Regions from separate parts of the Homo sapiens genome. Here regions 2 and 3 are each linked to region 1. The links are contacts of gene promoters, found by promoter capture Hi-C in human tissues and cell types (Jung and others, 2019). All regions are on one chromosome and are shown on one strand. Each heading gives the region's core, a stretch centred on a gene start or on the middle of the fragment in contact. The rest is flanking DNA. Distances are from core to core; before and after follow the strand shown.

Region 1 (2,954 bases), core at 100-2,599:
CTTGGTTTCTTGGATGACCTCTCGGTGACAGCCCTCAGCGTCCTCACCCTCAGCTAGGGACGGGTCTCCCGTGGACTACAGCGTGGGGAACCCTTCCTCGAGCCTCGGGGTCATCGCTGGTGGGCGCCACTGTTGCAGCTGCCCCACCCTCCACCACTCCAGACCCTTCCTCCTTCCTCCTCGCCCTGCTGCGGCTTGAGCCCGGGCCCACCCCCTTCCCCACTACACCATGCGGAGAGGCCCTACCCATCCAGAACCCCGGCCCTTCCCATTTCCTGTCTCCTCTCTTGCCTTGCCCCTGGCCCCCGCCAAGCTTGTCGGCCTCAGCTGGAGCCCTGACCCCTGCTCAGCCACCTATGACCTATCAGGTGGGTGGCAGGGGCCTGAGACCTAGAGGCGAGCACGGACACCCAGGTGCCTCAGGACCCTAAAGGAGCCTAGCAGGAGGAAGAGAGGCTGCGGGGGTTGCCGAGCGGCCACTCTCATCTGCTCAACAGCCGGTTCTCTGGCGCAATGGATAGCGCATTAGACTTTTAGCTGAGCCTGGTGTGGTCTAATTTGCTCAAGGGCTCATCATTGAGCCTGGACAGAATTGCATGCACATCGTGATTGGATTTCCTTCAGCTCTGCTGGAAATGGAGGAAACGTCCAGCACTATAGAATTAGGCCAGGTTCCCAGCAGAACTTCCCCACAGGATGCCCCACTCAAGCGCGCTCAGACCAGTGGCCATCTTCTGTGTGGGGGCCTGGGCGCCTGTGGCTGGGAGGCTGGGGCTGGATGAGGAAAGCCTCCAATGCTAGGTAGGATGGAGCCTCTGCTGCCCCAGCCAGTCCAGATGCAAGAACGCCATGGGCACAGGGGAGGCCATGATGCCCCGTTCTCCCTATCCAGCCCCAAGCCCAGTCACCGGGGAAGCATCCCTCATTTCCCTGCATCCCTGTCTGGATGGCGACAGTGACCAGGAGCGCCTTCAGCCTCTCCCAGCCTCCTCCAAAGCCTGGTCCCCTCTGGCCCACCCCATTGGCTCCTCTGCCCAGCCATGCCATGCCTCCCTCTTCCTCCCCCGAACTTCCCCTAAAGGCTACCACCACCCATGACTTCCCTCTTTCCTAGCCCCTGACCCAGGGTGTCAGCACTGCCCGCTATGGCAGCCCTGAGATGGCCCACAGTGGGAAGTACCTGTCTCAGCTCCAGGTCGGACATGGCCCTCTTGCCGCCCCTCGGGCAGTTCTGGAAGTAGCACGCGGAGGAGAAGGCCAGTAGGCCGAGGAAGCAGGCGGGCAGCATGGTGTCAGGCATCCTGGTGCACACAGGTGGACCCCGTATGCAGCACTGCTTGGTGGCTCTGTGCTGCTGCCTCTGCTGGCTGCCTATTTATGTCCGCAGGTGTTCCCGTGGAGGCGAGACGCGGCCGCCACCCCCTCCCCAGTGGCTCCCCAGGAGCCCACGGCCGCCAGGTCCCCAGCCGTCAGCAGTGATTCAGGCATCTGGGGACACACGTGGGCCTGTCTGTGCAGGGGATCATAGGGGAGGGGTACGGGCCGCCAGGCTGTCATGGGCCGCGGAATGACAGCAATTGCCTCTACTGTGACTGCAGCGCTCTGGATTCAGGGAGAGGGACAGACTGGGGGGTCACCTGGAGACCATCTCTGAGCTTTCTGATTACCCAGAAATGGCGTAGGGTCCAAGAAGAGGGTAAGAGGAACCGAGGGGCTGCGTGTTAGGGGCAGGGACAGGCCCTGGCCTAGGAGCTGTGGGGCAGGGGACAGCCAGGTGTGTGGGGAGGGTTAGCCCTGTGACAACAAGATAAGGGACCAAGAACAGCACAAGCCCAGAGTGGTGAGGACAGGGGCTGCACCAGAGATGAGAATCCCTGCCTCGTGGACAAGGCAGCCGCCGTCGTGGAGTCAAGGGACACAGAATGAGAGGGGCTTGTTCTCACAGGGTAGGGGGGTGGCAGGTTGCTGGGGAAAGTGCAAGACATGACACCCCCGCACCCCCATAGAGCAGGGCATGGGGACTCAGGCCCTGAAACTGGGGGCCTTGGGGACACATTGGCACATGACCCGTCACCCCCTCCCAGGTAGAAACATGAGTGTGGAGAGCTACTATGGGGAGAAAGAACTCCATGCCAAGTAAGGTTCAAAGGCGGGGGGAGCCCCAGGAAACCTGACAACAGTTTGTCCCAATTCCTACCCCCACCAGGACCTTAGTATGTGGCAACCAGGGCAGGTACATCTCAGGCCTGGGGTGGGAGAGCCGGGGGTGGGGGGTGTCTGGGCCTGGGGGAAGGTGCAGGAGGAGCCATACCTAAATGGACCCAGCCTGAGAAAGCCACTTTTGGTCCCTAATCCCAAGGTGGCAGGTCTAAAGAGGACATGGCCTCTCTCCCTGGGCCACCAGAATGCCCCGCTGGTCTGGGGTTCAGGCCCGGTACCCCCTGCCTCTCAAGCTGTGCGCAGTCCCCAGCTCTCGCAGTTCCCACAGGCTCTTGGCCTCCTCTCCAGGGTGCATAGAGGTGCTGCGAGGAAATTCCAGGGGACACAGCAGCCCCATCTCCAGCAAGGGCAGTGAGGGGGCCAGCAACCCAGGAGGGGCCTCCTATACTCAGGCCATGGCGTCGGTCTTTTCAGGAATGACCCCTCAGGGACTGCAAGGACCCTTTGAGAGGCAACACTGGGCAGTTGTTATTGCAGGAACACTGGCTCCCAATAGCTTGGCTCAGGGTCTGGCCTCTGTTGCTCGACACTTCATGGCTTGGGCAGCTCACTGGACTTCTCTGTGCCTTACTTTCTGCCAGTGTGAAGTAAGGAAAATCATGGTACCCACCTCCTAGGGTCAATGTGAGGACAGAAATAAATAATTTATTATACAAAAGCTTTAGAGCCAGGCATGGCAGCTTATGCCTGTAATCCCAGCTACTTGGGAGACCCAGACAGGAGGTTGAGACCAG
Region 2 (3,526 bases), core at 630-3,129, 220 kb after region 1:
TACCTGCACCCTTCCCTGTCCTGGGTATCCCTCTACATTTGTACTTTTGAAGTGAACCTTTTTAGAAACAAGTCCAGTGCCACTTGAAAGGCCTCCTGGACAAAGCTCAAAATCCTGAAGCTTCCAGAAAAAAGCACAGATTGGAGAAGCTGGCACATTCCATTTACTCAATAGGAAGATGGGAAAGGATGAGCGAGGTCATCTCCAGCATTTCCTCTCCCACTAGACTCTGAAGCCTCAAAACAAAATGGAAAAGAGGAAGACAAATTCACAAGACAGTGCTGGAAGAGCTCATTATGGGGCATGAGCCAAGGCAAGGTCTCAGTAAACAGGATCTGATTTCAGTACTGTCCTGTGATCTGTCCTGTGATCGCAGCTGCCCCTTAGCCTGGCTCTATGAGCAGTAACTCTGCCATTATTCTCAGAGCACACATGAGATAAGTGAAGTGACTTACTGGGTGGCCCAGTGCCTGTGCTCTGGTCTCAGATCCTCATCTGCTTGAAGCAATAACCCTTCTGGTATCTGCTCTGGACTCTTGACTGTCAGACAGTGGTCTGAGGGCCATACCTTTGCAGGGGTTCACAGGGGCCAGGGCAGCCAACTCCTGAGGAGATCTCCCTGACTCTTTGTGCCATCCTTGGTGTCCTTAGTGGATGAACTCTGTCCTTCCTTCTCCATTCTGTAAGTCTGAAAACCCAGGATAAGAGGAAGTTTCCCATTATTGTCCCAAAACCAGGAGGACTGCAGTTTGGTTGTCTTTGATTGAGCTCTGTATCCCTGGAAGTCCAACAAAAGAGGGATGGGCCCTCAGGGTAAACCAAAATACCAAGCAAATGCCAAAGAAGAATTTCGCTTTCCTCTTTCAGAAAACTGGCTGTACAAATAAAAATCTTCCAACAGCCCAGTCTATGTGAGGAGGGAACATTTATCACTGCTGGGGAAATTTATGATGCAATGGCTAGATGATTTTCATCCTGTGTCTATAAATGTGTGTGAAATGTACACACAAGGTTTAAAAAAAAAAAAAAAAAAAAACTAAAGCAACAACTACAAAACCCAGATGTCTATGAACTCACCACTGGGCCTAAGAAATTGAGCATTACTAGCACCGTTGAAACCCCCTGGATGTCCTTCCTCAATGAGAGCCCTTCTCTTCCACCCAGGGGGAACAGCATCCTGAATTCTGGATGGTTTTACCACACTTGAATGTATTTGTAAACTGTGTATTACTTAGTTTTGTCTGTGTTTTTATATAAATGAAATCCTAATCATGTATTCTTCTGTGACTTGCTTACTTCTCCTGACATTCTGTTCCTGAATGTGACCTATGTTACAAGTAATATGCAGCTATACAGTTCCTTCATGCTCAGTGCTGTACAAAACTTTACTTTTTTTTTTTTTTTTTTTGAGATGGAGTCTCACTCTGTTGCCTTGGCTGGAGTGCAGTGGTGCCATCTCTGCTCACTGCAATCTCCGCCTCCCAGGTTCAAGTGATTCTTGTGCCTCAGCCTCCCAAGTAGCTGGGATTACAGGCATGCGCCACCACGGTCCAGCTAATTTTTGTATTTTTAGTAGAGATGGGGTTTCACCACGCTGGCCAGGCTAGTCTCGAACTCCTGACCTCAGGTGACCTGCCCGCCTCGGCCTTCCAAAGTGCTGGGATTACAGGTGTGAGCCACCGTGCCAGACCAAAACCTTCATTTTTAAAGTGTCCCTCCAGCCAGGTGCGGTGGCTCCCTCCAGCCAGGTACAGTGGCTCACGCCTGTAATCCCAGCACTTTGGGAGACTGAGGTGGGAGCTTCACGTGAGGCCTGGAGTTTGAGACCAGCCTAGCCAACATGGTGAAACTCCATCTCTACTAAAAAAAAAAAAAAATTAGCCAGGTGTGGTGCCACATGCCCACATGACTCCTCCTCCATGCATACATGGTAGGGGCTAAGCTCTCTGGTAGCTCTTATAAGGGCACCACATCCCAACAGACCTTGTCCCACATTCATGACCTCATCTAACCCCTATTTCCTTCCAAAAGCCCCATCTCCAGATAACATCACTTTTGGGGTTAAGGCTTCAACACTGGAATTTTGGAGAGGACACAAACATTCAGTCTCTAATGTGATAAGGCAAGTTCCCACCTTGTTTTTCTTCTTCAGGAGTATCTTGGCTGTTCTTAGCACTTTGCTCAAAGTTATTGACATTTTTATGTTGGCTTTTCAGGATTTTCAAAAAACTTGTTGGTTTTTTTTTTCCTGAAATTATGTTAAATTTAAAGATCACTTTGGAGAGAATTGTCATTTTTACCATGTCAAGTAAGTAAACCTGAGTTTTCCAGTCCATGAATGGGATGTGTGTTTATGTCATTTTTAATGCCTTTTAGTATAGTGTTATAATTTTCTCAGCCTCCAGACTGTGAGAAATAAATTCCTACTGTTAATCCACTCACTCTGTGGTATTTTGTTATGGCATCCCAAGCAGACTAAGTCACCATATAGAAATATGTTATCTATCTAAAATAAGACAATGTGTTATTTTCTTTCCCAATGGAACAGAACAGAGAGCCTATTAATAGATGCACACATAAAGAGACTTGATTTATAACAAAGCTGGCACTGCCGATCAGTGGGAAAACAATGATTTTTCAATAACTTTGCTGAGACAGGTGGCTACCTACATTTAAAAAATGAACTTAGACTTCTATCTCATATCACTTTCACAGAGCAATCCAGGTGGATTCTTTGAAAAATTATATTTTTATAATTCAACAGAAAAGTCTCAATAGATCTAAAATATATGAATCACATAGGAAATGATTAATTATCCTGATTACATTAAAACTAAGAACTTTTATTCATGAAAAAGCATCAGAAATAAAATAAAAAGACAAGCCACCAGGTGAAAGAAAATATTTGCAATATACTGAATTGACAAAGAATTAGTATCCAAAATCTATAAAGAATTCCTGGCTGGGCGCAGTGGCTCACGTGTAATCCCAGAACTTTGGGAGGCTGTGGCAGGCAGATCACCTGAAGTCGGGAGATTGAGACCAGCCTGACCGACATAGAGAAACCCTACCTCTACTAAAAACACAAAATTAGCCGGGCATGGTGGTGCATGTCTGTAATCCCAGCTACTCGGGAGGCTGAGGCAGGGGAATCGCTTAAACCTGGGAGGCAGAGGTTGCAGTGAGCCAAGATCGTGCCATTGCACTCTAGCCCAGGCAACAAGAGTGAAACTCCATCAAGAAAGAAAAGAAAGATGAACAAACGAACTAATGATCGAGAGAAAGAGAGAGAAACAGAGAGAGAGAGAGAGAAAGAAAGAGAAAGAAAGGAAAGAAAGAAAAGAAAAAAGAAAAGGAAAGAAAGAAAGGAAAGAGAAAGAAAAAGAAAGAAAGAAAGAAAGAAAGAAAGAAAGAAAGAAAGAAAGAAAGAAAGAAAGAATTCCTAAAATAGGCCAGGCGCAGTGGGTCACGCCTGTAATCCCAGCACTTTGAGAGGCCGAGGTGGGCAGATGACCTGAGGTCAGGA
Region 3 (3,526 bases), core at 747-3,246, 210 kb before region 1:
AGCCCCCATAAGCAGTCAGCAGGTGGGAACTGGTAGGTCCCATATCCCACTGGCCTCCAAAAAACTGTCTCTGAAAGACTAAAAGCCCTTCAGTCTCTTTTCACCTCTGCCTGCTCAAAGTGACCTGGCTGATACCGTGCATTGTAAGGCATGGTGGGATCCCGGGGCCTGTTCTCTGTTTAGCCACTTAACATCTGGGTGAAATACAGAACCAGAAAAACCACCCCTCTGACTTCAGTACATTCATGTGTCTTCCCTTTGCCAGGTGAATTGCTTGGGATACAAAAGTGAGGAAGTCAGTCCTTAACCTTTGAGGAACTCAGAGTCTAATGTAGGACAGGTGGATATAAATACATCACAGGTGCTATAAGATTGTGATAATAATAATAGCTATTTTTTATTTGCCTTGTGACAAGCTATGTAATGTTTTCCATGAATTCCCTCAGTCTTTTCAACAGTCATAAAAGGGCTTATTCCTACTCTACAGGGTTGGAAACTGAGGCCAAACAGTGGGCAAATGAGGGAATAGTCAAGATTTGAATTTTGGCCGTGTATTTGCAGAGCCTCTGCCAGGCTGTGTAGGGAGCATCCCCTGCCTGGGTGATTTGGGAAAGCTTTCCTGGGACGGGGGGGCCTTCGGATCATGAAGGATGCATAGGAGTTTGCGCGTGGTGGACTGCACACATAGGCAAGAGGGAGCAGCACAAGCAAACTTGGTGGTGGAAGGAATCCACTGTCCTTGGGGAGGAGGGAAGAGGTTAATCATAGCTGGATCAGGTAAGGACAATGGAGAGCTACTAGAGGATTTAAAGGAGGTCAGGGACTTGGGCTGAAAGAATTTTGGAAAGATCATTTGGGGGCAATATAGGGCCAAATGCAGATGCCCCTGCAATATAGGAGGCACTGGTTGGGTCTGACAGAGGTAGAGTCACAGCCTCTTAGACCCAGAGGAAGGTGTAGAGAGAATCCTGCTCAATTTTGGGAAAAGATAATTAATGCAGATGAGAGAAAAATTCAAAAGTTCTAGCAATACAAAAGAGTATATAGAGAAAAATGTCCCTCCTACCCTGGCCCCAAGTCTCCTGTCTCCCTAACCTCCTCCCCAGAGATGGCTGAAGTTTTCAGTTTATATGGCCTTCCATAGACACTGTTGCTTTATAAATATGTGCCTGCTTATCCATACTCCTCCCACCATGGGACGTACCACTCACACCTTACTGGGTTTTTTTACTTAACATATTTAGGAAATCATTCTATTATCAACATATATAGAGAGTTATTTGTTCTTTCTGTTGACATGCTTTTACTTATTTAGTTGTATGGCTGTACTGTAACATCTTTGGGTTAAATATTTGTTTCCAGGTTCTTCTCTTACAGCAATGAATGTCCTTGTACATACTGTGTTATGTGCTCATTTGCAAAGTTATCTGAACAATATGCTTTTAGAAGTAGAATTACTGGGTCAAGGGATATGTCTGCATTTTTGATTTGCAGACATGGAGCCAAACTGCCACCCGTTTCTGGGGGGTTGTACCAATTTATCCTCTCCCCCAAAGTGTATAGCTGGATAGATGATCTTTGGAGAATTCAGGAGGATCAACTACGATGCTTTTTCAGCTATTATATGCCTACTTTTCCTCCACAAATCCTCCCCCACCCTATGCGATTCTAGCCAGTTTCTTTGAATTTACAGAGGGAGATGTTGAGGCTCAGAAGGATAAAAGTAACTTGTGCAGGATGATCAGTGCGGGTGGTGGTGGGTGTTTTGTTTTGTATTTTTGCACCCCTCATGTTTGTATTTGCCAGCACCTTTCATTGGAGGTGCTCAGTGTCAGTTTGTAAACATTATTGCATTATTTTTCTCCATTTTCACATGGAAAAAAATGAGATGCAGGGGAAGTTTGAGTTATGAGAGGGAAACTGGCCAAATATAGAATCTTGTCATTTTACTTCCAGTGCAATAATAAATGTTTCCAAATGACAAAGCTGAAGAGATGTTTTTTGTTTGTTTGTTTGTTTGTTTGTTTTTTGAGATGGAGTTTTGCTCTTGTTGCCCAGGCTGGAATGCAATGGCGCTATCTTGGCTCACGCAACTTTTGCCTCCTGGGTTCAAGCGATTCTCCTGCCTCAGCCTCCCGAGTAGCTGGGATTACAGGCATGTGTCACTGTACCTGGCTAATTTTGTATTTTTAGTAAAGACGGGGTTTCTCCATGTTGGTAAGGCTGGTCTTGAACTCCTGACCTCAGGTGATCCGCTGGTCTTGGCCTCCCAAAGTCCTGGGATTACAAGCATGAGCCACCGTGCCCGGTGAAGAAATGGTTTTTTAGTGAGTCTGAGTACAACAAAAATAGCAATAATATAACACTAACTTAATAAAACTGAACAGCAGGCCCAAAAATAGCCCAACATTAAAATTTATTTTAATGTATTCTCTATGGAAAAGAGAATCCATTAAATGTAAAACTATTTATTTTACTCTAAATTCACATCCATTTGTGTCAGTGTACAAGACATAATTTTTATAGTAGCAGTCAGTACATATAGAATATGATTTTTGAATTCTTCAATAGCATAAAATATTTTATATTTACTCATTTAAGTATTTGTTCATTTAAAATCACAGGCTGGGTGCGGTGGCTCACGCCTGTAATCCCAGCACTTTGGGAGGCTGAGGCAGGTGGATCATGAGGTCAAGAGATCAAGACCATCCTGGCCAACATGGTGAAACCCCATCTCTACTAAAAATACAAAAATTAGCTGGGTGTGGTGGCGCGTGCCTGTAATCCCAGCTACTCGGGAGGCTGAGGCATGAGAATCACTTGAACCCAGGAGGCGGAAGTTGCAGTGAGCCAAGATCTTGCCACTGTACTCCAGCCTGGCGACAGAGCGAGACTCCGTCTCAAAAAAAAGAAAAAAAAAATCACAGTATAGTATTCCATGCATCGACAGCTGTAGTTTTTTTTAAATTTGTTTTTGTTTTTTTGAGACAGGGTCTCACTCTGCCACCCTGGCTGGAGTGCAGTGGCATGATCACAGCTCACTGCAGCCTTGACCTCCTGGGCTAAATGATCTTCCCATCTCAGCCACCTGAATAGCTGGGACTGCACAGGTCTGTGCCACCACGACCAGCTAATTTTTTTATTTTTTGTAGAGACATTTTTATGTTGCCCAGGCTAGTCTTGAACTCCTGGACTCAAGTGATCCACCCGCCTTGGCCTCCCAAAGTGCTGGGATTACAGGTGTGAGCCACCACTCTCAGCCAACAGCTGTAGTTGGTGCAATCCTTTTTATTCTTTTATTTTTTTCTACCTTTTTGCTATTATAAATGGTACTTTTATACCCCTTGTTCAAATACTTCTTTTGGATTATTTCCTTGGACTCTTACTCCCAACCTGGGCTCACCAAGTCAGAGGATACAGTTTCGGTGCCTAATTGCAATCTGGAAAGGTTGAACTAGTTTCCAGCACTATCAGCAATTTATGGGGCCATTTCTTGACAACCCATCTAGTGCTATTACAAAGAAAT

The links. Contacts are between HindIII fragments. The study calls those that stand out against the background at their distance.
Region 2: a contact is called between a fragment that was not itself captured here and the fragment with the promoter of AVP in region 1, in 1 of the 25 tissues and cell types used here (H1 embryonic stem cells).
Region 3: a contact is called between a fragment that was not itself captured here and the fragment with the promoter of AVP in region 1, in 1 of the 25 tissues and cell types used here (mesenchymal stem cells).

Annotation. Positions count from the first base shown.
Region 1 is chr20:3,083,375-3,086,328 of GRCh38, forward strand. AVP (arginine vasopressin) reads right to left here and starts at 1,350. Exons shown (of 3, transcript NM_000490.5): 1 at 1,181-1,350. The coding sequence starts at 1,300. The HindIII fragment of the contact is 11,932 bases long and covers 1-1,596 here.
Region 2 is chr20:3,306,953-3,310,478 of GRCh38, forward strand. All of the region lies in intron 20 of DNAAF9 (dynein axonemal assembly factor 9), which reads right to left. Among named protein-coding and RNA genes, the nearest start is that of SLC4A11, 70 kb to the left of the region's middle. The HindIII fragment of the contact is 8,715 bases long and covers 1-3,526 here.
Region 3 is chr20:2,875,248-2,878,773 of GRCh38, forward strand. All of the region lies in intron 1 of PTPRA (protein tyrosine phosphatase receptor type A), which reads left to right. Among named protein-coding and RNA genes, the nearest start is that of PTPRA, 3.5 kb to the left of the region's middle. The HindIII fragment of the contact is 3,612 bases long and covers 191-3,526 here.